7 separate regions of the Homo sapiens genome follow, and regions 1, 2, 4, 5, 6 and 7 are each linked to region 3. The links are contacts of gene promoters, found by promoter capture Hi-C in blood cells and fetal thymus (Javierre and others, 2016). All regions are on one chromosome and are shown on one strand. Each heading gives the region's core, a stretch centred on a gene start or on the middle of the fragment in contact. The rest is flanking DNA. Distances are from core to core; before and after follow the strand shown.

The links. The method cuts DNA at HindIII sites, captures the fragments that hold promoters and counts their contacts. A CHiCAGO score of 5 or more calls a contact.
Region 1: a fragment that was not itself captured here is called in contact with the fragment with the promoter of PCK1 in region 3 in 6 of 17 cell types (M2 macrophages, endothelial precursors, naive B cells and 3 more); the score reaches 6.6 in M2 macrophages.
Region 2: a contact is called between a fragment that was not itself captured here and the fragment with the promoter of PCK1 in region 3, in 6 of 17 cell types (M1 macrophages, endothelial precursors, naive CD8 T cells and 3 more). The highest score is 7.3, in M1 macrophages.
Region 4: a fragment that was not itself captured here is called in contact with the fragment with the promoter of PCK1 in region 3 in 2 of 17 cell types (M0 macrophages and M1 macrophages); the score reaches 6.0 in M0 macrophages.
Region 5: a contact is called between a fragment that was not itself captured here and the fragment with the promoter of PCK1 in region 3, in 1 of 17 cell types (M1 macrophages). The highest score is 5.1, in M1 macrophages.
Region 6: a fragment that was not itself captured here is called in contact with the fragment with the promoter of PCK1 in region 3 in 1 of 17 cell types (endothelial precursors); the score reaches 5.9 in endothelial precursors.
Region 7: a contact is called between a fragment that was not itself captured here and the fragment with the promoter of PCK1 in region 3, in 5 of 17 cell types (endothelial precursors, total B cells, M1 macrophages and 2 more). The highest score is 6.9, in endothelial precursors.

The regions. Positions count from the first base shown.
Region 1 is chr20:58,132,642-58,136,814 of GRCh38, forward strand. It overlaps LOC107987284 (a long non-coding RNA gene), which reads left to right. Exons shown (of 3, transcript XR_001754693.2): 3 at 1-1,186. All of the region lies in intron 2 of LOC107985434 (a long non-coding RNA gene), which reads right to left. Among named protein-coding and RNA genes, the nearest start is that of CIMIP1, 16 kb to the right of the region's middle. The HindIII fragment of the contact is 2,899 bases long and covers 700-3,598 here.
Region 2 is chr20:58,153,517-58,157,397 of GRCh38, forward strand. It overlaps CIMIP1 (ciliary microtubule inner protein 1), which reads left to right. Exons shown (of 4, transcript NM_178456.3): 2 at 28-109; 3 at 1,952-2,053. LOC107985434 (a long non-coding RNA gene) reads right to left here. Exons shown (of 3, transcript XR_001754692.2): 2 at 3,182-3,313. Among named protein-coding and RNA genes, the nearest start is that of CIMIP1, 4.6 kb to the left of the region's middle. The HindIII fragment of the contact is 2,611 bases long and covers 1,197-3,807 here.
Region 3 is chr20:57,558,473-57,562,552 of GRCh38, forward strand. It overlaps PCK1 (phosphoenolpyruvate carboxykinase 1), which reads left to right and starts at 2,638. Exons shown (of 10, transcript NM_002591.4): 1 at 2,638-2,731; 2 at 2,900-3,163; 3 at 3,599-3,780. The coding sequence starts at 2,940. The HindIII fragment of the contact is 6,047 bases long and covers 1-3,342 here.
Region 4 is chr20:58,088,672-58,092,467 of GRCh38, forward strand. No RefSeq gene overlaps it. Among named protein-coding and RNA genes, the nearest start is that of CIMIP1, 60 kb to the right of the region's middle. The HindIII fragment of the contact is 3,126 bases long and covers 1-3,032 here.
Region 5 is chr20:58,104,616-58,108,448 of GRCh38, forward strand. No RefSeq gene overlaps it. Among named protein-coding and RNA genes, the nearest start is that of CIMIP1, 44 kb to the right of the region's middle. The HindIII fragment of the contact is 397 bases long and covers 2,267-2,663 here.
Region 6 is chr20:58,191,197-58,194,989 of GRCh38, forward strand. No RefSeq gene overlaps it. Among named protein-coding and RNA genes, the nearest start is that of ANKRD60, 36 kb to the right of the region's middle. The HindIII fragment of the contact is 5,377 bases long and covers 1-3,793 here.
Region 7 is chr20:58,171,095-58,175,175 of GRCh38, forward strand. The region is part of intron 2 of LOC105372694 (a long non-coding RNA gene); the gene reads right to left. Among named protein-coding and RNA genes, the nearest start is that of CIMIP1, 22 kb to the left of the region's middle. The HindIII fragment of the contact is 264 bases long and covers 1,525-1,788 here.

The sequences.
Region 1 (4,173 bases), core at 899-3,398, 570 kb after region 3:
TTTGGAAGATTGAAGACTGACTTCTAAACTGTGCTGACTTCAGGAAGACCTACTTTTGGCCAGGCACAGAGGCTCATGCCTGTAATCCCAGCACCTTGGGAGGCTGAGGAGGGAGGATTGCTTGAGCCCAGGAGTTCAAGACAAGCCTAGGTAACACAGCAAGAAAAATGTTGAAATTAGCTGAGTATGGTGGGTCATGCCTGTAGTCGCAGCTACTTGGAAAGCTGAGACAGGAGAATGGCTTGAACCAGAGAGGTGGAGGCTGCAGTGAGCTATGATCATGCCCCTGCACTCCAGACTGGGTAACAGAGTGAGACCCCATCTCCAAAAAAAAAGAAGACCTGCTTTTTTCTCCTTCTATCCAGTCCCATCGAATTAACTGTTCTTGGAAAGGAGGGCACATCCCAAACTGGGGGGTCACAAGGTGATTTGTGAGGTACACGTAGCATCAAAACCACAGATACACACGCTGACAGAGCTATTCCTTTTTAGTCCTTTGCTTGGCCCAGGAGAGTCCCCAGTGGGGACTAGTCAATTTTCAGCACCTCCCCAGTGCTGCCACCACCCTTTTTAATAGAGAGAGTGAGCAGCTACAGCACCAAACTGGAATTTCGTAACATCAGCTTTCATTATTTTTATGACCATTGCCTTCCACATAGGTCAAATGGCACTGGTTTTTCACTTATGGTCATGACTTGAAGCTTCCTTTTTAAAATAACTGTATGTTTTCAAAAGTGTGTAAATGTAAAAGAAAGGATTAAGTAAATAATGGCACGATATGGCAGGTGAGATGCAAATGGCAGGTTTGGGGAAAAGGGCAATCGATAAAAATAAAGGCAGCTTGGCTCTCCCGCTCTCCCAGCGCTGCAGCTCAGAGGAAAACTAAAATTAATTCCTTTTGCAGCATGACGGGGAAAAAAAGCATCCAGAAGGAAATTCATCAAACCATTAAAAGTGATCTCCCCCAGGGAAGGGGCTTGCAGGCAGGGGGAACACATTCACATTTCGCTTTAAACACATCTGGATTATTTGAATTTTTGTATTGCATAGAAGTTAACCCTTTGTCTGACTTCTTGGTTATAAATGTTTTTCTTGGAATGCCTTTTGTTTATTGCCTTTGTGATCTCTTGGGCAGGCAAAACTTCTCAACTTCATAAAATAAAATAAAAAATCCATCTTTTCTTTATAGCTTCTGGGTTTCCAGTCTCCCTGGCCCCTAGATTGTAACTGCAGTATCACACATTTCTTGCAATACTATTATGATTATTGTGTTACTTGTAAGTATTTAATTCCTCTAGAGTTGATTTCTGTATCCATGGACCATTGGTTCCATTTTCATGTTCTCCCATTTGTCAAAGGGTTCATCCATCCTCCTGTCTTGAACATCAGCTCTCTCCGTATATACCTTCTGAGTTATAAGGACAGTTCCACTTCACTTCCTGCTTCACTAATCTAGTCCCTGTCACGACACCAAAACTGACTTGGTTACAGGACCTTTAGAGCCTATACTAATACCTGGATAGGTAAATCCTCCATCACTCTTCTCATTTTCCACATTTCCTAGCTATTCTGAGGGCATCTCTTCTTCCATAGGAACTCTAAGATTATATTTTTATTTGAGTATGCATTATTTCAATAATTTAAAAAATAAAATATTTTATTATTAAAAAGGTGGCCAGGTGTGGTGGCTTATGCCTGTAACTCCAGCACTTTGGGAGGCCAAGTCGGGTGGATCACTTGAGGTCAGGAGTTCGAGACCAACCTGGCCAACATGGCGAAACCCTGTGTCTACTAAAAATACAAAAATTAGCTGGGTGTGGTGGCGAGCGCCTGTAATTCCAGCTACTCAGGAGGCTGAGGCAAGAGAATTGCTTGAACCTGGGAGGCGGAGGTTGCAGTGAGCCGAGATTGTGCCACTACACTCCAGCCTGGGCGACAGAGCGAGACTCTGTCTTTAAAAAAAAAAAAAAAAAAACTCCTTGTCCAAAAAAAAAAAAAAGTGGGGGGAGGCGGCACCACCAGATGCTGGTGAGGATTGGAGTACCGAGAGCTCTCACCCCTGGTTGGTGGGAATGCAAAATGGTGCAGCCACTTTGGAAGACAGTTTCACAGCTTCTTGCAAAGTTACACATATTCTTTCCATACCACACAGCAATTGTGCTCCCTGATATTTACCCAGAGGATTTGTTTAGAGCAGCTTTCATCATAATTGCCAAAACTTAGAATCCACCGCGATGTCCTTGGGTTGGTGAATGGATGAACTGTAGTACATCCAGGCACTGGAATTTTATTCAGTACTAAGAAAGGAACAAGCTATCGAGATAGGAAAAGATGTGGAGGAAACCGACGGCATGTTACTAAGTGAAAGAAGTCAGTCTGAAAAGCACACACTGTATGGTTCCAACTCTATGGCCACACTAAGGAGGCACAAAACAAAGAAAAGATGCGCAAAAGACAAAAACAAACACAATTAGGGAGGCGAGTGTCCCGCTCTGGTGGGGGATGTTGATAGTGAGGGAGGCCGTGCCTGTGTGGAGGCAGGGGGTTTATGGAAAATCTCTGCACCTTCTACTCAGTTTTGCTGTGAACTTGAAACTGCTCTTAAAAAAATAAGGTCTTTTTTTTAAAGGGAGGGAGGGATCTTTTAAATTGTCTCTTTCTTGTATATCAAAAGCTAAGCTATGCCAGCATCTGAAACAGAAAGTGGCTGAGGGTACCTCTGTCACTTGGACCTCTTCTGCTCACAGCCTCCCTGAACTGGTGGCCAGGGAAGGCAGTGGGAGGAGAGGACCAAGTCTCAAACTCCAGAAGCCCCACCTCCCTGAGCTCAGCAACTCTGCCAAGCCCCCTCAGGTAAGCCAGCAGGGAGGCGGTGGGGGCTCTATAGAGTGAGCACTTCTCAGCCAGTTACCTGGCTAGGAGCCCAGCAATTCTTGCTAGAACCCCGCGGATGTGGTGCCAGTTTGAATAAGAGTCAGCTCTGGCTGATTCTTGCAGACAAAGTGAGGTGGAGCTCTCTCTTTGAGCGTTCTACTATGCACAGGACTGCAGGTGGGAAATCGCTGTCAGGAAGGACAGAGGGAGGAAAACGTTGACAGCGCAGATAAAAGGGGTCAAGTTCACGGGACTTTGACCATGTCCCAGGCATTGTGCTGTGCCTGCACTCCTGTCATCCCCCCATTCTACAGACAACTATTCAGAGAGATTAATTCTTTCACCCATGACCACCCAGCTTACGGGGGCACTTGGAGCTCACCTGTCGGCTCCAACCCCTTCTCACTGCTCAGTGCAAGAGTAAGGCAATACACTGCCGGCCCCACCCTGGAGGAAAATACTCGGCTCTGAATCTGCACCTCTCCCAAGTAGGTATTTACAAACAAAAGAACTCAGCGCTCCCGGCCGTGAGTGTTGCAAATACATACACAAAAATGACTGAGCCTGATTCATCATTTGAGAACCAAAGGGGATAAGGCTGCATTAACTATGAGAGTTTGCGTCTTCCAGCAGACAAAACAAAAAATGAGAGCCACTCTTTCTAAATGTTTTTGTATCCAACCCAGTTCCTTCCAATTTTTTGCCATTGTTTAAAAGATGTTGAAGCTTCCAAGTGCACAGCTCAGGAAAGTTTTCATCATGTCTCATCCTGTGTGTTGCAGCGCGAAGTCCTCGTCCAGAGAAGGCAACGGCGAGAAACAAATCCAACATCCTGGGCTGCTTTTTCCTTCCCCCACTTTTTAAAAGTTTGGTGTCCAAGTCACTTGACAAACCCAGACCCTAACAATGACATTTTGTGTAGAATTCTGGGATCAAAATATAATTTCAAAAATAATATATTTTCTGACATCCCCCAAGAAAAAAAGTACTGGTTTCTTCCCCCTAAAAGGATTTAGATGGAATAACATCTGTGCTGAGAATATTGTGAATATGTTGAACTGACAGGCAGTCTCTAAGGCACTCCGCTCATTAATGTGCTGTGCATAAAATTAAAACTTGAAATATATTTTTAAATCCATTTTGAATCATTTAAGCAAAGAAACTATTGTGCTGAAATAATATATTTGGAGCAAGGAATATGAAAGCTATTAAAATGTCTTAGACCTCCTGCCTTTCATGGGAGAGGAAGAAGGGGGGAAATGCTCTCTCTGATTTGAAACAGGCTTTGCATAAAATATA
Region 2 (3,881 bases), core at 1,252-3,751, 590 kb after region 3:
CCAGCACTCAGGAACTTTCTTTTTCAGGAAATACCGTCTGAAGGCTGAATCGGAAGCACGGCAGAACTGGCCCCAGAACTGGGGGTTTTTAACAACCCCTTTTGAGGAGGTAAATATAAATTGTATGAGCCCCAAGGTTACAGAATCAATCATTTCAAAGAATGAATGATTACAAAGTCTATCACTTGCAAGAATAAAACTAAAGAGCATGTTGTAGGCAAAGATCACTAACTCCTAAACCAGAAGGTTCCCGCCTTTCACAGATTCCTGGGCACTGACCACATGCCAGGCATGTTCTAGGTGCTTCGGCAGAACCAGATGATCAAATCTGGACAAGAACCCCGGTGCAGAGACAGGTGTTGTTTTATGCCCATTTACAAATTAGGAAATTGAGCTCCAAGACCTGCAAAGTCACACAACTGATAAGGACCCTACTCAGGTGAGAAGCAGGTGGGTCTGATGCCACAGCCACCTGACCTCAGACTTCCCATCTGTAAAGTGGGATGAGAGTCCTCACCTGCCTAACTGAGCGACTGTGAGGTGCAGATACAAGAAGGCTATGGACACCTCACCTGGCCTGGAGGCCAAGTGACATATGAGGGATTCTTGGGAAAATGCTGTCGGTATTCCCTAAAGATGACAAGTCCAGAAGTCTACAGGGACCAGCTAGGTGACAGAAACAGGAGACAGGGCCAAGCATAATTAATCAGAAGGGGTGGAGACTCAGGCAAAGAGGCCACTGGTCCTGTCCAAAGAGGCAGCCAGCATGAGCCCAGCCAAGTGAAACCATATGGGAAAGCCAACTGCATATTCCCATCACTCAAGAGAGTCCAGAAAGCCAGATGTTTACATGAAATTTTCTGAGTCTAGAAATGAAATGCTTATGTGGGTTCTGGTGGGGTGGTGGCCACCAATCTGCAACCTCTCAAACTTCAGGACAGAACACAAGAGATGCAGAATTAATTAAAACACCACATCAGTCAAAGTATCTATGATTCACAGCAGTGTAAAGCCCATTTGTAATTCATCCCATCCTACGAGCTTTGAAATTATGCTGTTCTTAATGAGGGTGTTTTTAATTCTTAGAGGGTTCCACAGTTTGAAATTTTATGCATAGAATGAGTTCTTATTAATATAATATGCATAAGGAGTCTATATTAATATTCTTTATATGTAATTAAATTGGGTTTTCAAAAAGCTTGATATTGCTTGAAAAATTAAAAAGGGGAGTGGACGCTCTCCTCTAATATTTTAAAGTTCGGTCCTGAAAACTTTTTGGCATTTTTTGTTAGTTTGTTTGTTGTTGTTTGAGACAGGGTCTGGATCTGTCACCCAGGCTGGAGTGCAGTGGCATGATCTCAGCTCACTGCAGCATCCACCTCCAGGCTGAAGCCATCCTGTCACCTTGGCTCCCAAGTAGCTGGGACCACAGGCACATGCCATCATGCCCAGCTAATTTTTGTATTTTTTGAAGAGATGGAGTCTTGCTAAGTTGCCCAGGCTGGTCTTGAACTCCTGAGCTCAAGCAATCCTCCCACCTCGGCCTCCCAAAGTGTTGGGATTACAGGCATGAGCCACCACACTCAACCCTTTTTGGCATTTTAAAACTTGAGTCCGTAACTGGTAACGTTTTCTCAAATTCCCCCACAGGGGATGTAAATCAGGAGGCTGTGGTGAGCAGCAGGAGGGGATGGAGATGGGTCTCAGCTTTGGGTGCAGCAGGCCTGCGTTGAGGTCCCCACCCTACTTTCCTAACGGTGTAACTAAGACAAGCCTCTGCCTCCCATTTCCATGCCCCACTTCTGTGTCTATAAAATGCGCCTTCTAGGGGAAGCAATGGGGAGGACACTCCCCCAGCTTCACCTGAGGCTTCCCGTCTCTGGGGATTCTGTTTCAGTACATTTCCCCCAGCTTCACGTAAGACTTCCCATCTCTGGGGATTCTGTTTCAGTTGATCAAGTGTGAAGAAGATCTCCCCACCCCAAAGCCCAAAATCGAGCTTCCTGAGCGTTTCCGCATCCGGCCGGTGACCCCAGTGGAGAAGTACATCAAGGTTTGAAACGTTTTTAAATACTCATTTTTTTAAAATACTCATTTTCCTAAGTAAGAAATAAGCCCCAGTGGAAACTGATGGCTCCAGATGTGCAAAGCCAGCACTGAAGGTAAGAGCACAGCAGTGCCAGGTGCAGAGTCCAGGTCCACGTCCTTCCCAAACCCAGCCATGGGAAACATGCCAGGCTAAAGTCTACAAGTGCAAGCACCATGACCTCCTGCTCTGCAGAAGCAGAGAGAAGGCAGGAAAATGGGGTCTTCATGCGTTCTTTCAGCAAACATTTCCAGGGTGTGGGCAGGAAGGCAGGGCAGACCCAGGCAGGGACTCTGGAATCAGACCACCAGATCCCTGTGCTGATAGGCTGCTCACCTTCTGTGTGGTCTTGGGCAAGTGGCTTGACCTCTCTGTGTCTCCCCTGCCTGTCTTATACAATGGGGGTTAATGAAGCACCTACTTCAGGGAGTACCCTCAGGGTTCAGCAGGCTGCCCAGCATGTTTAGAGAGTGCCGATGACAGTCAGCTATTACTAAGGTGCAACAGCTTGGTTGGGAAAACAGTAATGAACAAGAAGGCAAGACCCCAGCCCACATGTCTGGGTCTAGAGAACCAACATTAACCAAGAAAATCAACACCATTTGGATACGCTATGCTAGCACCATGGAGGAAACAGGCCGGTGGTGTGTCACAGGATAAGAGAGGGCGGGGTGGTCAGGGAAGGGGCCCTTTGAGCTGAGGACTGAAGGATGACCAGGCACCAGCCCTAGGAAAAGTATTCTAGGCGCAGGGAACAGCATGTATGAAAGCCCTGAGATAGAACACAGGCTGCTATGTTTCAGGAACAGCAAGGCAAGGCGATGCGACAGGAGCTTGGGTGGAGGGTGGGGGCAGGAGGAGAAGGTGTGGGTGGAGAAGGGATGTGAGTGGAAAAGTGGGCAGGCTAGAAGAAGGAGTTGCAATTGGAGTCCAATTTAGAGAAGCCGCTGGAGGGTTGTAAGCAGGGCCATGGAAAGGCAAGACCTGCCTATTGGAAAGATGGCTCTCATTGCTAGTGGAGAAAAGATTGTGGGGAGAGGGACAGGAGTGACCAGGCCAAACCCAGAGAAAAGAGGCCTTAGACGATGCTCTCACCTGAAGCCTGCACCACGGCGGACATGGCTCAGATCCCTCTAGAAACAGTTGAGCTCCATATGTCTCATGGGTCTGTCATTTTGGCTGGGAGTTCTGCCCTCTGCCCAGCTATGGAGAAGGTGGTTCTGCGTGCTGATGGGGAGAGCAGATGAAAACCCAAGATGAAGGCCGCAGGGCAGGAGGAGTTCAGCTGCAGCCTTTTGCCTGGCATGCTCGTGGTCTGATGGGGTAGCTGGCACATAGTGAGCATTTGGGGGGTATGCATCTGTGAGCCCCAATGAATGAATGAATGAATGAGCTCCACTGAGTTATGTTGACAGTTTTTACCCCAAATATAAAGCAATATAGAGTCACTGCTAAAAAATATTTAGAAATACACCAAAATATAATATAATTAAAACCCACATATAGGCTCTTACCCATGATTAACATTTTGGGGGTGCTCCTTCCAGAGGTTTTCCTACACATCCCTTGACCTGTAAGAGTAACCACCCCACCAGCTCAAGCTATTATTATCTCTTAGCCGCTCACCGTGGTGACTGCTTTACATTGGGTGTCTCATCTTACTTCCACTGCAGCCCCGGATATTATCATCCTCAAACCCATTTTGCAGATGGGAAAGCTGAAGCTTAAAAAAGCTGAATTCCTTTCTCTGGCCACACAGCAAGTGTGTCTGATTCCAGAGCCCTGCTTTTAAATG
Region 3 (4,080 bases), core at 1,388-3,887:
GAGGAAGTCCCTTTTAGTTTGAAACTATTTTAGTGTCCGATCTTTCTTTCTCCTTCTTTCCCCAATTTTGTATCTGGGCTCAACTTTTTATACATTTTTCAAAAGAAGAGCAGCCTTGGACCTAAGAAAATCTGAGCCTAAGGAGCTCCCCAAAAGCTAGGAGGTCTCTATGGCATCCGTCCCAGAAACAACTAACGCAACTCACAGGCAGCGTGAGCCACCTCCATGCCCCACCCACTGAGCACACACTGCAAAGTCCACTCGGCGGGTTAACTGGGGGTCCTCAGGGATCCCACCAGCAGGGTGGCTGTTTGGCTGCTTCTTCGGGTCCCTGTTGAAACCAACAGACAGTAGTTAGTTTTGAGGCTTACTTACAAATAAGCTGACAGTCAGATGAGGAAGACCCATGCTTCCGGCCAGCCCCTTGAAATTGTTGTCAATGAGTCCCCACTGGGGCAGGGAGTCTCTAAGGACAGGAAAAATGGGGGCCCGAGGGCATCATCTGCCAAGACCTAAGGCAACTGTACCCATACTTTTGCCTGTGTGTCCTCAAAACCCCTCTACTTTATCATGATTCTTCTTCCAGAGAACTCTGTCCTTTGAGGCAAGTCTGTAAACCAATGTTTGCTTTTTAACATTTTGACAAGGGACAGTTGCGGGGGAATCATTACCGTCCTTCCACGCTGTAAATGCAGGTAATGAAAGGATCGGATGAAGGTCGTTGGTGACTCACTGCTCTGACGTTTTACTTGAACTAGCTGTTTCTCTCCCAGAAGACTCAGAACATAAGCACCTGGAATGGATGGGTCGCATTTAGGACTCCAAATGAGTTCTGCTTTCCCTTTTTGTTTTCAATCTATGTGCTCTTTCAGGTACTCAAACCTGTTACCGTTTTATCAGCAAAATGGGACTTTCTACCAATTTGGTGGGATGAGTCTCGCCGGGAGTGATGTGTGTGTCACGGAATTGTGGTCATGCATCGGGATGGCTAATTCACTGATGTCAGATGCTAACGAAGTGGCCTCGGCTACTGAGCATCACGTCACTGTTGGGTTTAGACACAACACGATCTTATGTATGGATGACAGCACCACTAATAACAAATGCCAGTGACCTAAACGGGGAATAACTTCAAATGAAACAAAAAGCACCTCATATCATATTTATCCTGAAAGACACAACTGGCTGAATAAAATCTGAATACAGGAAACATAGCAATGGGTTGATAATTTTGGTGGAACTTGATGATGTGTGACCCACGCCCAACACAGTGTGACCCAAGCCCCCAGGAGGGTTCTCTAAGTGAGTTTGGTCGGAGGCTGCCATTCACAGTGACTTGTATTTGCCACAGCAGCTCTTTCTAAGCCCAGTCCTGGGATTATCTCAGGGATCATCCCACACCCCAGCGGGGAGATGGGCCAAGTCCCCACCTGACCTCATCTTAGGTAGAGAGGCTTCCATGGAAGTGTGGGCTGGCTGTGGGGGGTTGAGACCTAGCCCCGTTCTTTTGACATTTCACCCTGTGTTCTCCAAACTCCAGCAAGCAGCTTCCATAGCTCATTAAATTTGACTGAAGGTCTGATGGCTTGCAAAGCAAATTCTTTACAACTGTTATAAAGGTTTCATTGCTTAAGCATATAATCTAGCAAAACTGCCAAGCCCCCTCCACTCCCTAAACTCTAAGACTTGCCAGGGAAGAGAACAGTGGCCAGTGGACTGCAGGAGTAACTGCACTCAGCCCAGAACTCCCTGGAGGACACAGGGAAGGTTCTGGAAAGGTGGCGGTACCTCACAGGGAGAGACGTGGTGCTCCAGGGCCCAACTTGCTCATGTTCAGATCCTCACTCTGCAACCCACCAGCCGGCTGTGAGTGGCTACACAATCTCTGCCTCAGTTTCCCTATCTGTACATGGGTTGTTCATAGCCTCCACCTCAGAGGGTAGTAATGATGCCAAGCTCTTAGAACAGTGCTCAGCATGTGTGCATCCTGTGCCTACTCTATGCCAAGCACTACAGAGAGAAAAATGAACAAAATAGGGAGAAATCCCTGCCCTCATGGAGTTTACATCGGGGCAGGGGGCGGGGGCGGCACAGAGCAGACAATCAATACAGTGATTAGCCCCCAGTTAGGTTAGGCATTTCCAATCTTTGCCAATAAGCCACATATTTGCCCAAGTTAGGGTGCATCCTTCCCATGAACTTTGACTGTGACCTTTGACTATGGGGTGACATCTTATAGCTGTGGTGTTTTGCCAACCAGCAGCTCTTGGTACACAAAATGTGCTGCTAGCAGGTGCCCCGGCCAACCTTGTCCTTGACCCACCTGCCTGTTAAGAAAAGGGTGTTGTGTTTTGCAACAGCAGTAAAATGGGTCAAGGTTTAGTCAGTTGGAAGTTGTGTCAAAACTCACTATGGTTGGTTGAGGGCTCGAAGTCTCCCAGCATTCATTAACAACTATCTGTTCAATGATTATCTCCCTGGGGCGTGTTGCAGTGAGTTGGCCCAAAGCATAACTGACCCTGGCCGTGATCCAGAGACCTGCCCCCTGACGTCAGTGGCGAGCCTCCCTGGGTGCAGCTGAGGGGCAGGGCTATTCTTTTCCACAGTATTTAAAGCTGGGAGGTTCTGCCACCAAGCACGGCCTTCCCACTGGGAACACAAACTTGCTGGCGGGAAGAGCCCGGAAAGAAACCTGTGGATCTCCCTTCGAGATCATCCAAAGAGAAGAAAGGTAAGTAGAGCTTTGCATTTACATTTTGAAAAATTACAAAGATGAACTCATTTTTTTCCTGAGAGCAATAACTATTTGGCAATGCACAGCCCTGGCAAAAGGCCGTCGAATGTGTTTGAAGGTGTCTGTTGTTGTTTTTGTTCAGGACGCTTGCGTTTTCTATTTCAGGTGACCTCACATTCGTGCCCCTTAGCAGCACTCTGCAGAAATGCCTCCTCAGCTGCAAAACGGCCTGAACCTCTCGGCCAAAGTTGTCCAGGGAAGCCTGGACAGCCTACCCCAGGCAGTGAGGGAGTTTCTCGAGAATAACGCTGAGCTGTGTCAGCCTGATCACATCCACATCTGTGACGGCTCTGAGGAGGAGAATGGGCGGCTTCTGGGCCAGATGGAGGAAGAGGGCATCCTCAGGCGGCTGAAGAAGTATGACAACTGGTAAGCTCGGCCCCCGCTGCCTGTCCCAGCACCCTGCAGGCAGGGCTCCCCTGCGTCTCCTGGGAGTTGGTGGAGAAAGGTGAATGAAGGCCTTCGGGTAGTTTCAGACTCTTGAGAAGATGAATGCAATGGTCAGAACCATACAGACTTGAATTTTGTGACATTAGTGGGCCAGCCCAAGCTTTAAATGAGGTGTGTGCACAAAAGCTCTGCCAACTAGATTCCTGATTAAAAAAAAGGCAGCCCCTCTCCTACAGACCAGGTCCTAGTGGAGTAAATGTCCACCTGGCCATGTCTTAGATGGTCTGTGTGTTCACACTGATGGACTGTTGTTAGCGTGCTCAGCACTCTGCTAGGCATGGAAAGCCACGGTACTGAAGGAGATGGTTCGCTGCCCGTGGTGCTTGGCTGAAAGGAAGCCTGTGATTTTTGCAGCTGGTTGGCTCTCACTGACCCCAGGGATGTGGCCAGGATCGAAAGCAAGACGGTTATCGTCACCCAAGAGCAAAGAGACACAGTGCCCATCCCCAAAACAGGCCTCAGCCAGCTCGGTCGCTGGATGTCAGAGGAGGATTTTGAGAAAGCGTTCAATGCCAGGTTCCCAGGGTGCATGAAAGGTGAGCGGAACATTGATTTGATTGGGTAAAACAGCAGAGAGCCTTTTCTTATTTACATCTATCCTAATGGTAATTCAAACAATAATGGAAGCTCCCACCACCTCAGATGTCTTTCAGTTCCATACATGAAGTTGGCAATGTATTGAAAATGCACATCCCTCTTCTGCTTTTACAGACTGTCTTATACAAACGTGAAAACTAGTTCCATGCATATGGGTTTTAAATAGCTTGGTGGGACCCAATTGCACATTTATGAAAACTCTTTAATTTCAGCAGGCTGTTCACTTTCCAGTGGCCTCT
Region 4 (3,796 bases), core at 220-2,719, 530 kb after region 3:
CTCATGTGACCCTGAGGCAACAAGCATGAGGAAGGAAAGCCAATATGCTCAGAAGGGTGAAACAAAAGATAGGAAAGGCCGGATCCCTGAGGATGTGCTGGGCAACCGAGCCCAGAACCAATAGCCCACCTATCCACGGCCTCGCTGTGTGAGGCAGTCAGGGCAGGCGGATTCTCCAGGGCCTGCAGTGGAATGCATCTTCAGGGATTTGCTTTGCGTGGCCCTTAAGCATCAGGTCTCATCTCAGGTTCTCAGCCTGCAGCTGAACACATCTTCAGGGATTTGCTTCGTATGGTCTCAAGTATCAGGTCTCATCTCAGGGACCTTTCTCAGAATGGCCCTTCCCTCTCAGGACCAATTCCAAGCCAGAGGAGAAGGTCATTCTTCTCTATTTGCTCAGAGAGTGGATGGACCATTAAGAACAGGAAACTTCTTATCAAGAGGGAACCTATCAGCCTAGACGTTTTCTACCTTCCCAGGTCCTGCATTGGACCAACCTGAAAGAAGATATCAGGGAAATTAAATATGGTGCTCTCATCCCTGCCCCCACACCAAGATTCATGATTGGAAACACAGCATAGGCCGAGCGCGGTGGCTCACATCTGTAATCCCAGCACTTTGGGAGGCTGAGGCAGGTGGATCACTTGAGGCCAGGAGTTGGAGGCCAGACTAGGCAATATGGCAGAACTCCCCTCTACTAAAAATAGAAAAAAATAAGCCAGGCACGGTGGCGAGTGCCTGTAATCCCAGCTACTTGGGAGGATGAGGCAGAAGAATCACTTGAACCCGGGAGGTAGAGGTTGCAGTGAGCCGAGATGGTGCCACTGCACTCCAGCCTGGGCAACAGAGTGAGACTCCATCTCAAGAAAAAAAGAAAGGAAAGAAGGAAAGAAAGAAAGAAGGAAAGAAAGAAAGAAAGAAAGAAAGGAAGGAAGGAAGGAAGGAAGGAAGGAAGGAAGGAAGGAAGGAAGGAAGGAAGGAAGGAAGGGAAGGAGGGAAGGAGAAAAGAAAAGAGAAAGAGAAGAGAAGAGAAAGAACACTCAGCATAGCAGTGACCACAGAAAATAATTCTGGGAAACGGTGGATTCCCGAATTCCTGTCTACCTTCACTGAAGGACTTACCACCCCTCTGTTCAGGGTTCTTGTTTATTTACTTATTTATTTATCTTTGAGACAGGGTGTCTCTCTGTTTCTCAGGCTGGAGTGCAGTGATATGATCATGGCTCAGTGTAGCCTCAGCCCCCTGGGCTCAAGCAATCCTCCCACCTCTCAGCCACCCAAGTAGCTCGGACTACAGGTGTGTGGCACCACACCCAGCTATTTTTTTGTATTTTTTGTAAAGACAGTATTTCACCATGTTGCATAGGCTGGTCTCAAACTCCTGGGCTCAAGTTATCCACCCGCCTTGGCCCCCCAAAGTGCTGGGATTACAGGCGTAAGCTACTATGCCTGGGCAGTTTATTACTTTTAAAAATTCATGGTGGTTGGCCAGCCACAGGAGCTGCAAAATTCCTAGAGCTGGAGGGAGCCATGCTGCAGAATTGTATTGCTATCATGCTTCAGAGGGGTAGGGTTAGCATACCCAGAGGGGCAGCCGAATCCCATGTGTCCTTCTGGTGTCATCACACCCAAACTCCCAGACTGCACTCCAGTGTGCTCCGTATCATGCCCTCAACTCCCTTCGCAAATCAGCCCTGGTCTCTGTCCTTGCTGCACTGGGCCATCCTTGGCTAGAGATACAGAATTCTTGGCCCCCAACCCAGTCCCAAACCTGACCCTCCCCAGCCCCATCACCATAATGGGCACCAGTACCTGCCACCCAAGAGTGGGCTGAACCACCCTTGAACCCCCTTAACCTCCCCACTATTATACATCCAGTTCAGTGTCAACTCCGCCCACATTACCCCAAAACATCCATCGAAATCTTCCCCTTCTCTGGAGCTCCATGGCTTATACCCCAGCCCAATTCACCAGCCTTGCTCACCCGGTTAAAGAGGCAGCTCTGGCTGTCTGCTCTCCTCCCACTGATGTCCCCACTGCAGCCAGCATGACTTTGTCTAACTCGGATCCAAACCTGTCACCTCCTGAAGCCCTCCAGTGGCTCTCACGGCACAGGAAATCCTGGGGCCTCTCTGTGCTCCCTCTTCCCAGGACCCAGGAGCCCACGTGATCTTGTTCCCTTCCCTCCTGCCCCTCCTGTCTCAGTCCATTCAAACTGCTACAACAAAACCATGGGCTGAGTGGTTTAAAAACAGAAACATTTCTCACGGTTCTGGAGGCTGGAAGTCCAAGGTCAAGGTGTCGGCAGGTTCAGTGTCTATTGAGAGCCTGATTCTTCATGAAGGGCCATCTTCTCTCTGTGTGCACGCACGGTAGAAGGGGCAAGGCAGCTCTCTGGTACTCACTTCCCAAGGCTGTACCTCCAAGTGCAATCACACTGGGGATGAGGTGTCAGCAAATGAACTGGAGAGTGAGAACACAAATGTTCAGTCTGTAGCGGCCACCATGGCCTCTGCTCGCTCTGCTCCAGCCACCTGGCTTTCCCTCCCTTCCTGGAACACACCAACTTCACTCCGACCACTATTCCCTCTGCCTGGACTTCTCCAGGAAGAGCTTTGCGTGACGAGCTACTCTGCCTCCTCCAAAACTCAGCCCAGGAGCCCCCTCGTGAACGCCTTCGCCAGCTGAAGTTGTCTTGTTTTTTAATTTATCTGATTTTGTCAGCTTTCTCCTGGACTCCCTGCCCTCAACAAGAATGTAAGGTCTTTCAGGGCAGGGATTCCACGAACCTGCTTTCTCAGGGCCTAGAACGTGGCTTGAAACACAGAAAGTGCTCAATAAATGCTCAACATGTCAATGACTATTCACATGGGAAAACATGCAAGAAATCTGACTTAAGAAGAAACCTACAATATGCCAGTTACATTTAAATTTCAGATAAACAAATATTTTTAGTATGAGTATCTGCCATACGTATACTAAATATTTGGGACATCCTTATACTAAAAAAAAAATTGTTGATCTGAAATTGAAGCTTAACTTGGCATCCTGGGTTTTACCTCTGACAACTCTAATCTAATAGAACCATCCATTTTATGCTAAAGAGGAAGTCTCAAAGCTGGCTGGGAAGCTTCAGAGAAAGATCGAGCCCTGGGCTGCACCAGAGGGACTGATCCAATCTTTGGGTTCGAATTTCTCTGCCTGTGATTCTAATCATTCGCTGAGTTTGGGGATCGTGACGCTGAATCCTCAGAACATACCCAACCAGGGCTAGCACCAGCTCTGAGGAGTAGGGGACTCCCTGCCGATGGGGGAGATGTTCCCACACTGGGGGTGTTTGGGGAGCTCTGGCTATCAGGGAAAACCATGGTCCTCTCTTCTCTCAACAGGGCACAGCTGCTTCAGCCTCATCCAGCCTCGCCTGTCCCAACGTTGTTCCATAGAGTGTAAAAAGCAGCCCAGCAGTGTGAAAAACAGCCCCCAAACTCCCAGGAGTGTGAAAAGCAGCCCCCAGACTCCCAGGACTGTGAAAAGCAGCCCCAAAAGGCCGTATCCATATCCTAACCCCTGCAGCTGTGAATGACAGCTGATTTGGAAGTAGGCTTTTTGGAGATGTGAACAACTCTTTGGAGAAGTCCTTTGGATTTAGGGTGTTCTTATAAGAAAAGGGAGATTTGAAACACAGACACAGAGAGAAGAAGGCCATGTGAAGATGCAGAGATTGGCCACCAGCCACTGGGAGAGAGGTGCGGAGAAAACTCTGCCTCTGAGGCTTGAGAGAATTGACCCTGCCAAT
Region 5 (3,833 bases), core at 1,215-3,714, 550 kb after region 3:
ATATACTTGAGTACATCCATGTAACAGAATTTCATGTAGCCTTATAAAATCATGTTACCAACATTTATGTATAGAGAAAGGTATTTATAATAGGATGTTAAATGAAAGAAAATACAGGCCTGACCTGTAAGCAGAGTATGATGCCAACTTTACAAAATACATAGAAAAAAATGAAAAATACAGCAAAATGTTTACAGAGGTTGTCTTTAGGAGGTGAGATTAATTTGCTTTTCTCTATTTTTCTAGTGGACCTATATTACTTTTAGAATCATAAAAAACCCATGATAAATGTTATAAAAATGATGAGTGCTGCCGGGCGCGGTGGCTCATGCCTGTAATCCCAGCACTTTGGGAGGCCGAGGCGGGCAGATCACGAGGTCAGGAGATCGAGACCATCCTGGCTAACACGGTGAAACCCCGTCTCTACTAAAAATACAAAAAATTAGCCGGGCGTGATGGTGGGCGCCTGCAGTCCCAGCTACTTGGGAGGCTGAGGCAGGAGAATGGCGTGAACCCAGGAGGCAGAGCTTGCAATGAGCCAAGATCATGCCACTGCACTCCAGCCTGGGTGAAAGAGTGAGACTCCGTCTCAAAAAAAAAAAAAAAAAAAAATTTCAGTGCCAGTTAGAGGAGAACCATGTTTAAAAGAGAGAGGGAAAGATGATTTTCCTCAGCCAATGCCCTTAAACTAATTAAAAACAGCACCCTTCTTCATCCAATTACTTCCAGTAATTTATTTTAACAAATCAAATTGCCCCCAAATTCAACTTTATTACTCATTTTTTTTGTTGTAAAAGGAAACCCTCAAGAAGCAACAATCTTCTGCCCTCTGCTTGCCTAAGCCATTTGAATCCTGCCCGCCTTGCTCCTTTTACGCCTGCCATGTTCGTTTGAGGAGATGGGAACCCCAGCATGGCTCCTCTGAAACATGTAGTTCAGAGATTTGTGCAAGCCACCATTATGCTCCAAGCTCAAGCAGAGAGAAGATTCTTCTCTGCACATGCTGTACCTGAGACCTTCCCTCTTCTTGGTAATTTCAACTGAGAGAGTAGCCAAGACCATAATGTGAGATGGAGAGCAAAGGATAGCGTAAGTTGGCAAAGTGGCACTCTCACCACAAGTGAGGCTGTCATTCTTTGATATCACGCAAACACGTATTTACAGGACCATCAAGGAGGGTAACATTTTAATAAAGTTGACTTAAGCCTCAAAGACTTTGGGGATATTTGTTACTGCAGCATAACCCAACCTCCCTGACTGACACACTACTGTCTCCCCTTCTGCCTCACCTCACTTTGCCCCTGTCAACAAAACCCACTCCTTAAAAAGCAGCATGTTAATTAAATTCACATGGGACACTGAATCAGGAGACATTTCTTACAATAGTGAGGTGAAAGAAATAGAGAGATTAGGATTAGGAACATAGACAGAAAATCACAGCTTGAGATCTCACTTATCAAAACATTAAAGAAAATAAGAATGAAGCCAAATACATGTGGGTAAAGCTAATCAAGCTAGAGGCAGCACAGGAGACTGAGATAAGCCAAGAGAAATGGAGAGCCGGGGGGAAACCACAGAATCCCTGTAGATTTAGAGTGCAGTGTGATTAGGTATCATTTGCTGCCAGGCACAGAGCCTGGAGTCCACAGGGCAAAGGAAAGAAGTGCCCCTCTGGAGGGCTTCTCTGCCACTCAGATTATTCCCTCGCTTGGCGGATGTGTTAATTTGCTAGGGCTGCCACAACCAAGTCCCAAATTGGGTGGCTTAAACTATGGAAATGGATTGACTCATGGTTCTGGAGGCCAGAAGTCTGAAATCAAGGTGTCAGCAGGGCTGCTTCCTGCAGTTCCCAGTCTCTCTCCATGGTTCGTCGACTGCCATCTTCGTATTCACATGGCTTTCTCCCTGTGTACCTGTCTGTGTTCAAGCTTCCCCTTTTTATCGGGACAGCAGTCATCCTGAATTGCGACTCACCCTAGCAACCTCATCTTAACTAGTTACATCTGTACAACTTTATTTCCAAATAAGGGCACATCCTGAGGTAGTGGGGGTTAGGACTTCAACATATGAATTTAGAAAGAGACACAATTCAACCCATAATGGAGGGTCTCGTTCTCTGGGTACTGAAGATATGCAAGGGTCCCAGGAGCTTCCAGGGGTGTAAGAGGCCAGGCAAGGAAAACAGAACAGCACAAAACGTGAGTGATGATGTACACAGGCAACAGATGCCAGGGCCAAACAGAAGGCATGCACGTCCTAAACGGGAAGCTTCTTAAAATTTGGGGCTCTGCAAAATGCCAAAGCAGAAGCTAAAAAACTAGCATCGAGCTCATTTGTGGTCCTCAGATTGCTAATTATGATGGTAGCAATCCCAGTTGTGGAAGCCACCAAGCCTGCTTGAGTATCCTGCCTCACTCTCCTTCCAGGCACAGGCTTCCAGCTAGGTGTGGCCACATGACTTGCCTTCCCAAGATGAACAGAAGTGACGGATGTCTCCTCTGGGTGGAAGCTATAAAAGCCAGTCCTATTTTCTCTTTTCTTCCGCCACAGTGAGCAGCTGCTCTGTTCATCTGGGCCACAGAGAGAGGAGGATCACGGCATGAGTTAGAGTCCCTGCCAACGGATGGTCCCATATGAGGAAAAAATCAATCACCATTGTCTTAAGCTTCGGAGGCTTTAGGGCCATTTGTTACTGCAGCATAACCCAGCCTCCCTGACTGATACACCCCCATCTTTCCCACTGTTCCCACCCCACCTTATCCCTACCAATAGTACCTGAATTTATCTCAGAAGGGTGGACCCATCCCCAGCCCCAGAGATGAATTAAAACCATTTCTTCCTTTATGTGTAGATGGGTTTTCTCCCTTGGTTTTCTGACAATCATGTCACTTTCCCCAAACCAGAAACTTACCCTCTTCTTGTCAGCTTGGTCATGGCTGTGAAGAGGCCCCTCATCCCTTCTGCAGCCCCTTCCAATTCAATCTCCCCAGAATCATCTCTGAAAATGGCCTTGGAGCCCTGATTCCTCCATTTGGAATCATCCAGTGGCTTCCCTAATGCAGCCCAAGAGCCTGGCCTGCCTGGCCCCTGCTGACCCCTCAGCCTCCTGGCCTGGCCTCCCTGCCCAGCTCCATGCACACAGCCTCCAGTGAGCTTCGACTGAGCCCTCTCCCTCCACACAGTGGTGGCACATACTCTTCCCTGCATCTGGGTTGTTCTTTACCCTGCCTTCTCTTCTCAGCTCCTTAACTCAACTCTTACTCTATTTTCTTTCTCCTGTAAACTCCACACTCCTCAAAAAACAGCTCTCCTATCCCTCCATCCTCTACAGAGCATCTGCCTGCCCCTGCTACCTGGCAAGTCCCATGAGGCAAGGGCTGCAATGGATGGAATGTTTGTGTCCCTTCCAATTTATCCTAACCCCTAATGTGATGGCTTTAGGAGGCAGGAGGTGATTAGGTCATGAAGGTGGAACCCTCATGAATGGAATTAGTGTTCTTATAAAAGGAATCCCAGAGAGCTGCCTTGTGCTTTCTTCCACCACGTTAGAGTACAGTGAGAATACGGTCATCTGGAAACCAGGAAGAAGGCCCTCACCAGATACTGAATCTGCTGACACTTTGATTTCAGACTTCCCAGCCTCCTGAACTATAAGAAATAAATTTATGTTGTTTAAGCCACCCAGTTATAACAGCCCAAACTCATTAGAACAGAAAAATACCAAAAAACAATGTGTTGCTGTAACAAATATCTGAAAATGCAGACAGCTTTGCAACGGGGTAATAGGTAGAGGCTGGAAAAGTTTTGAGGTACATGCTAGAAAAAGCCTAGAA
Region 6 (3,793 bases), core at 75-2,574, 630 kb after region 3:
CTTTGGGAGGCCGAGGCGGGCGGATCGCGAGGTCAGGAGATCGAGACCATCCTGGCTAACACGGTGAAACCCCGTCTGTACTAAAAATATAAAAAATTCGCCGGGCGAGGTGGCGGGCGACTGTAGTCCCAGCTACACGGGAGGCTGAGGCAGGAGAATGGCGTGAACCCGGGAGGCGGAGCTTGCAGTGAGCCGAGATCGCACCACTGCACTCCAGCCTGGGAGACAGAGCGAGACTCCGTCTCAAAAAAAAAAAAAAAAAAAAAAAAAACCCTCCATCCTACAGAGCCACAGGGATTGGTTCTAAGATGTGCATGTGACCCAAACTGGCTAATCAGGGACTTCGCTGAGATTTGATGCCAGGAGAGACTTTCTCCTTCTCTCTGGGGTCTTAAGCTATGAAGACCACATAAGCTAGAGCTCCTGCCTCCATTGTTCCCTGACACATGGAAGGACCTGTCTGCAGGAAAAGAGGAAGACACAGATAAATGCAGAGACAGTGGAGATAAGAGAGAAAGAGAGAGAACAACCTGATTCTATCATCTGACTCCCTGGAGCCCCTAAACCCAGGGGACCATGAACTTTTCAGTGTCTTGAGCCAGCAATGCCCTCTTTGCACTTAAGCCAGTTTGAGCTGATTTTCTGTCAGTTACACCCAGAGATGTCCTGAGTGATACAGAGAATTTCTGTCAGTCATTCACTCACTCGGACAAGAAAGACACAGTCCCTGATCCACAGCCAGCAGAACCGAGCAGAGGTCACAGTCACTAGACAAATAATTGCACAGAGTGTCAGTCAGAGACAGGAGTGACAGGTGCCACAAAGGAGAAGCTGGGGTCTTCAGGGGAGTGTGCAAAGAGGATCCCAATCCCAACTGCAGAACTCAGGGGACCTTCGCCCAGAAAGTGACCATGAGATCCTACAACAGCTCCTTCATTCCTCAGTTTTGCTTTGTAGGATTTTCTTTTTTGAGTTCAAAAGTCTTCACTGATACCACTCTGTGGGTGAAAGAGGATATGCACACGCGCACGCAGACACATGCACACATAAACACGCACACATGCCCAGAAGCACATCCCGGCACACACAGACATGCATGCACCCAGACTCACATGCATGCATGCATTAACACACGGAGATATGCACAGAGACACATGCAGAAACACACCCTGGCACCCAACCACGATTCAGCCATATCTGGATGCATTGGACAAATCGGATTCAAATTCTAGCTCCCCTGAGCTCCCGTGAGCCTCAGGGTCTCTTCCTGTAAAGTGTGGAGATGGCGGTCCCCCTCACAGGTGTGTGAGCACTCAGTGAAGATGGATGTGAGTGAAGGTTTTAGCTCCAAGCTGGTCATGGCGCTAGAAGTCACCCTCATCATTAATGAGGAAAAAGTCATGTCTGTATCCAAGAGAGCAGGTCACATGGGAAATGGCACCCTTCCTAAGCAATCTGTAAGAGTCAGCAGTCGGCCCTGCTGGAGACCCTGACAGCATCACGGGGAAGTTGGGGTCTTGTTCACCCCTCACCTGCAACCCAGGGATGGGGCCGCTGCAGCAGTGCCCAGGGACACCAGCAGAGGGCAGTGGTGGCCAACAGACCCATTTATGAGCACTTGTGTGACCCCCGCTAGAAATGCCTGGGGTGGAGAGGACATGGGGGCTTTTCTGGGATCCCGGGAAAGTAAATGACCAGGACAAGACTGGGTGACATCTAGGCTATCAATGTGGCCCTATTTGTACCCAAAGGTTGGTGCAAAAAGTGCAAAGTGCAGGTCCCATCAGTGACATTCATAATTCTTCCTTGCAGAGGGGGAATAAAACTGGACCTAGAAAGGAATGAGGTTGGGAGTGGGGGTTCAAAGAAACCCCATGAGTGTTCCCCATGCAGGAACAGCATTCCATGCCCGAGGGGGCAGAAGGCGCTCAACAGCCGAAGGAGAGCCACACATGCCGCCAGCCACATGAAAAGACCTTGGCCCCGCTCCTTCTCACCCCTGTCCAGCCCTGACCCTGCCAGACCAGGAGCACAGGCGGAGAAGGTAGCAGAGCAAGGAGGGTGGAAGACAGGCCATCATCCCAATGGCAGGACCCTGGCATCCAGTTGGCCTGGTCTGGGGACCCTCTCCCAGAAGCTGTGAGCTGGACGTGAGCTTTACGTTTTGAGTTCCAGTCACATAGATGTCTTCACAACTGAGTGTGACTGGAGACCTCGGAGTCTGCCCAAGATGTCCCCAGAGGAAGGGGGTATGGCAAGGAAAAGCAAGGCATGTCCTAGCCCAGTCACTGTCTGCGGACACACCCTGCTCCTGTGAGACGTGGGACAGGGTTCCCAGCCAGGCTCTGAATTTCAGAGACTGGGCCTCCCACCACCAGGCCACTAGCCTCTGCTGGGTTACAGTCAGACACAAAGCCAGGAATTAGATTCCTTTGCTGGCCTGGGGGCCCTCGAGCACCCTACCTGAGTCTGTGAGCACCCTGTCCTCTAAGCAGAGCAGAAGCAGAGATGCGTCCCCACCTCGGGGACAAGTCCAGAGGGGAAAGAACTTAGTCCCAGTGCAGTGTGCAGAGCCAGCCCCTCTCCACGCTCCAGGCATGCTACACACATACCTGGAGCCCCTCCCTTCCCATCTCTACCTGGCCAGATTCTTCCCATCCAGTAACGGCCCCTTCCTCCAAAGAACCCTCCTGGACTCCTTCTTTGTGTACTGCTGAACTGCTTCCTAAGTTAGGCTTGGAAATGGCCAATTCTCAATTGCTTTTGCTTAAAATCCTGGAGTTCTCTGGACTCCATTGCAGGCCCTTTTCTCTCCTTGTTGTGCTCCCTTCCTTGGGTCATTGTATCAGTCAGCTACTGCCATCTCATGCTGCCTAACAAACTGCAGGGTCTCGGTGGCAGACAACTGCAAGCACATCTGTAGTTTGTGCACTTATGGGTCACTGAGGGTCAGCTGCTCACAGTGAGGCTGGCTAGGGCAGTCAGCTCCGTGTGCCTCTCAACCTCCTCCTTGGACTAGCGGAAGAGCTGGGGCGGGTTCTTCTCATGGCAATGGCAAAACCACAACAGGAGGAGTGGAAATGTGGGCGGCTCCTTAAGGCCTAGGCTTGGAACAGGAGATTATCTTTCCTGCCTTGTTCTAGAGGCCAAAGCATGTCACATGCCAAAACCCAAGTCACATGACTCCTTAAGGCCTAGGTTTGGAACAGACACATTATCTTTTCTGCCTTGGTCTAGGGGCCAAAGTAAGTCACATGGCAAAACCTAAAGTCAAGAAGCTGGAAAATATACACCACTCTGTCCATGGGAGAAAACGGCAGAGTTACCAAAGGGTGTGGACACAGGGAGAAGACAGATTGCTGGAGCCAGCCATCTCCTCCAGACCCGTGATGGTGACTCCCCAGCTGTGCCTCTAGCCCAGGCCTGTCTCCAGAGCCTCACGTTCATCTGGCTGATTCCCTACAGAACACAGCAGTGCAACACTCTGTTCATCCCAATACCAAAACATTTGGAAATGGCCAAATAATTAGTCAGCAGCTGGTTAAATTAATTATAGTTTGTGTGCACAATAAAATTGTTGAAAACAATTTTTTTAAAGAATATTCATGTAAAAAGATGTGCACCATAAAAATTGTAGCATAGAATGTATAGTATAATCTCATTTAGATAGATAGATAGACAGAGAGACAGACAGACAGACAGACAGACAGAAAACAGCCTGGAAAGGTATGGACTGTATCAGTTAGGAAGCTCTTGGCTAGAAATAACAAAGAATCCACTAATGTGACTTTAA
Region 7 (4,081 bases), core at 407-2,906, 610 kb after region 3:
GGGTGTGGAGAAGGAGTCAAGATTTCTCTCTACTACAAGGAAAGCTGAATCCTGAACAAAACAATAAATGGTAACAGACACGTAAATTCACGATCAAGGATCCTGAAGGGCATGGCAGAGACAATGGCGTCTGTAGAACCCATGTCCTGTTGAGAGGGCAGCTGCCCCTCAGCGCCACGGGTCACTGCCTGGGGAAGCAGGGGACAGCACAGCCAGATCTTTCCAGCTTCCAAAGGAAGCCGAACAATTTGGACTTTATAAATGTAAAATCTCCCGATTTTAAAATGTCTTTTAAATGTTTAATGTTTTTAATTATTAGTAAGCCGGGCGCCGTGGCTCATGCCGGTAATCCTAACATTTTGGGAGGCTGAGGCGGGAGGATCAGTTGAACCCAGGAGTTTGAGACCAGCCTGGGCAACACAGTGAAACCCCATCTCCACAAAAAATACCAAAAAAATAGCAGGGTGTGGTGGTGCATACCTGTAATCCCAGCTGCTTGGGAGGCTGAAGTGGGAGGATCGCCTGAGCCCAGGGAGGTCGAGGCTACAGTGAACTATGATCGTGCGACTGCACGTGCCTGGGCAACAGAGCAAGGCCTTGTCTCAATAAATAAATAGTATTTAATAAATAAACAAATACTATGCAAGTTAAACCCAATAAGCCAGCAGCCTCCAATTGATAATTTCTGAAATAAACTCATATTTTCAACTGCTTTTGTGACTTCTCCACTTGGATCTCTAAAAGGCATCTCAGACCTGACATGTCAAAAATGAAACTCTCGATTCCAGCAGGCATCTCCCCGCCCCATCCACCCCCACACCGACTCCAACACACCTCTGCTCCTCATCACATTCACAGGCAAGTCAGTGACCAGAGCATTCATTCACCACCCAGCCCATGCACAAGTCTCGGCTCCCTCTGCCCCACCCACCTCCCCAACCATCCTTCAGCATAACTCTCTGCTTCACCCACCTCCAGCACCATCATCTCTGTGAAAGAACAGGCATTGTGACACTGTGATGCACACCTCTGGTAGAGACAGCCGTGATGGCAGACTGTGTGGGCCATGGTGGATGTTGTTGTTGTTTGCAGTGCACACCAGCCTGGAAATGCTTCAGCCTGGAGGTGACGTGTTGTTTCTACTCATATCTCATAGCCCAGAGCAAGTCACCTGACCTTGCCTAACTTCAAGGGGACAGGAAATCTTCATCAGCACTCGTAATATCTACCACAGGGACAAGTAACTTCTACCATTGCTAAATTTTGGGTTTTGCCAGTAAAGAACACTTAAAAGTATATATCCACCACTACCATCTATTAGATCAACAGCGGACAAACGATGGCCCAACGGCCACAGTCGGCCCAAAACCTCTTTGTAAATTAGGGTTTACCAGCACACAGCCTGTTGCTTGTTGTATATATTGTCTGTGGCTACCATTGGCGCTACAACAGTGCTGAGTAGTTGCAACAGATACTTCGGGTCCTGTAAAACTGAAAATATTTACTTTGGGCCTTTACAGAAAAAGCTTGAGCACCCCTAGGCTCATTCATTCACTGTCACAATTATCTCATAAAAGAACATTTGGGCCGCGCAAGGTGGGCTCACGCCTGTAATCCCAACACTTTGGGGGGCCAAGGGGGGTGGATCGTTTGAGCTCTCCTGAACAACATGACGAAATCCTGTCTCTACTAAAAATACAAAAATTAGCTGGGCGTGGTGGTGTGCACCTGTAATTTCAGCTACTCGGGAAGCTGAGGCTGGAGAATTGCTTCAACCCAGGGGGCAGAAGCTTCAGTGTGCCTGGATCACGCCACTGCACTCCAGCCTGGGCAACAGAGCAAGACTCTGTCTCAAAAAAAAAAAAAAAATGGAAAAGAAAAAAAAAAAGAACATTTTTAACTGAGAAGGTAGGGAAATGGTATCTCAGAATAGAGGCTCACCCTTAAATCAGATCTTGATGGAAAAGACGTGATGACTTTATTTTCTTCATATATCTGCAAAAAGAGGAAACTTCAGCAGAGGCTGCTGTGGGGCACAGACAAGTGTTTGGGGAGCCCTGGACTGTGAAATCCTTTAGGGATTAAAACTCAGAGGCTGGGAAGGAAGCGGCAGACAAGTGAATTGGGCCGCGTGGGGCCGTGGGGCCGTGGGGCCAGGACCGTGGGCAGAACTCAAGCCCACCTGAGAGGCGGGGCCAGGAAGCTGCAGCCAATGGCTGCCGTGGGGCGGGGCTCCAGTACAGTCTGACCTTCTGATTTGCCCAAAGAAGATGGAAACACATTCTCATCTTGTCATATAATTCCCAATTTAAGAAACAAAAAAAACACTCTGAAGGACAAATTTCATGACTGTTGTTTCCCCCAGAGATGAAGCTGGGGAACAGAAGTGACCCTATAGAACAGCAGACTCATCGAGTTTACCAGTAATGTTTCATTTCTTTATTTTTCTAAAAAAAATGACACGAAGCAAAAATGACTGGAAGCCACTAAAAGGAATGAAGTCGTGATACACGCTACAACGTGGATAAGCTCGGAAAAGAGGCCAGAAAACACAAAAGGTCACCTATTGCATGGTCCAGTTGATACAAATCCAGAAGGAATCAACCCTTAGGAACAGAAAGCAGATTCACCGTTGTCAGGGGCTGGGCAGCGAACAGGAGCTAGACGCAGAGATAGAGGCGATGGCTGTATAACATGGTGAAAGTGCTAAAGGACCCTGAATCGTGCACTTTAAAACGGTTCATTTTATGTCATGTTAATTTCACCTCAAAAAACATGACTGTTGTCAACTCTGGGTGATGTGCGTGAAATTATTCTTTTACATATTTTTCCCAATTTCTGATACACATATTGGAATATATTTTACCCACTGCACGGGTGAAATTCAACACAGTGCAGGGCCAGGACAGGCCCTTGAGGCACCGGTTTGCCGCGGTAGATCTCCATCATCCACGGTGCCCATCGGGTCACCTGGTCGTCACTCCACCGGCGGTCCCCACCCGGGAGACCTGCTTATCTCTCCCAGCCTCGGGAAAACTGCTCTGGTGGGATCAGAGATAAAAATAAATCTGCAGAATGTTGGGCCAGACACGAAAGAGAACAGGCTGTATGATTCCATTTATATAAAGTGCAGAAACAGACAAATCTGATCAATGCTACAGAAGCCAGGATGGTGGGGTCGTTGTGCGGTGGTGGTTGGGAGGGGCATGAAGGGGGTTGTGCTGGTCACTTCCTGTTTCTGAATCTGGATGCCGGCGGCACAGATGTGTTCAGTTTGTGAACGCTCCTGGGGCTGCACAATCGCGCATGCACTGTCCTGTATTACTTCGGCTTTAGAGAAGTTTTTAAAGAAATAATAAATGCATAAATCCATCAGATACATTGAATTTCCTGCCAAGCCTTTGAAATAGAGGCCCAGGCCTTGGCTTCAGGTTGCAAGACACCCGAGAGTTGAGTTTGTGGGATGTTGTACAGACGTGGGTCTCAAAGGCTTATTATAACTTTTTTTATGCAAACAGAAATTACCCCAGCACATCTGGAGACCAAGCTCCTAAAGCGGGTGTGAGTGCAGCTTGTCACTGTACCTTCGCAGCACGAGGAGAGGAGAGTTCGAAACCACAAAGCTCCTTCCTTTCTTTCAGGAGAAAGAAAATGGAGGATGGGAACGTCATCAGCCCAGACCAAAGCTGTTCTCAGGCTTAGAATCAGGGAAGGAACGTAATTGCAGAGGGCACACGCTCCTCTAATTTTTTGGAAAGAATCTGAACGCACTGGTGTGTTATTGAGTCCCTGGGGAAGCTGCTGCCCCTCCCCATACCCTCACTCCCTCCACAAGTTCACAGACACCTCGGAGGGAGCCCAGGAAAGGCTGTGAAAGGACCGCACCCAGAGTTGCCTTCCAGAGCCCCTGCTCCCCTCCCAGGCCAGCATACCGAGCCCTCTGAAGGGATCCCACAGCAGCAGCCCAGAAGTCCACATTTTCATGGAGTTTGTCCACATCCACAGCAAACAGCAGGCAGGCCGGGGATTATATAAGCTAATTACCCCATTCCTTCCCCTCAGTGCAGAAAAGGTCAGGTCC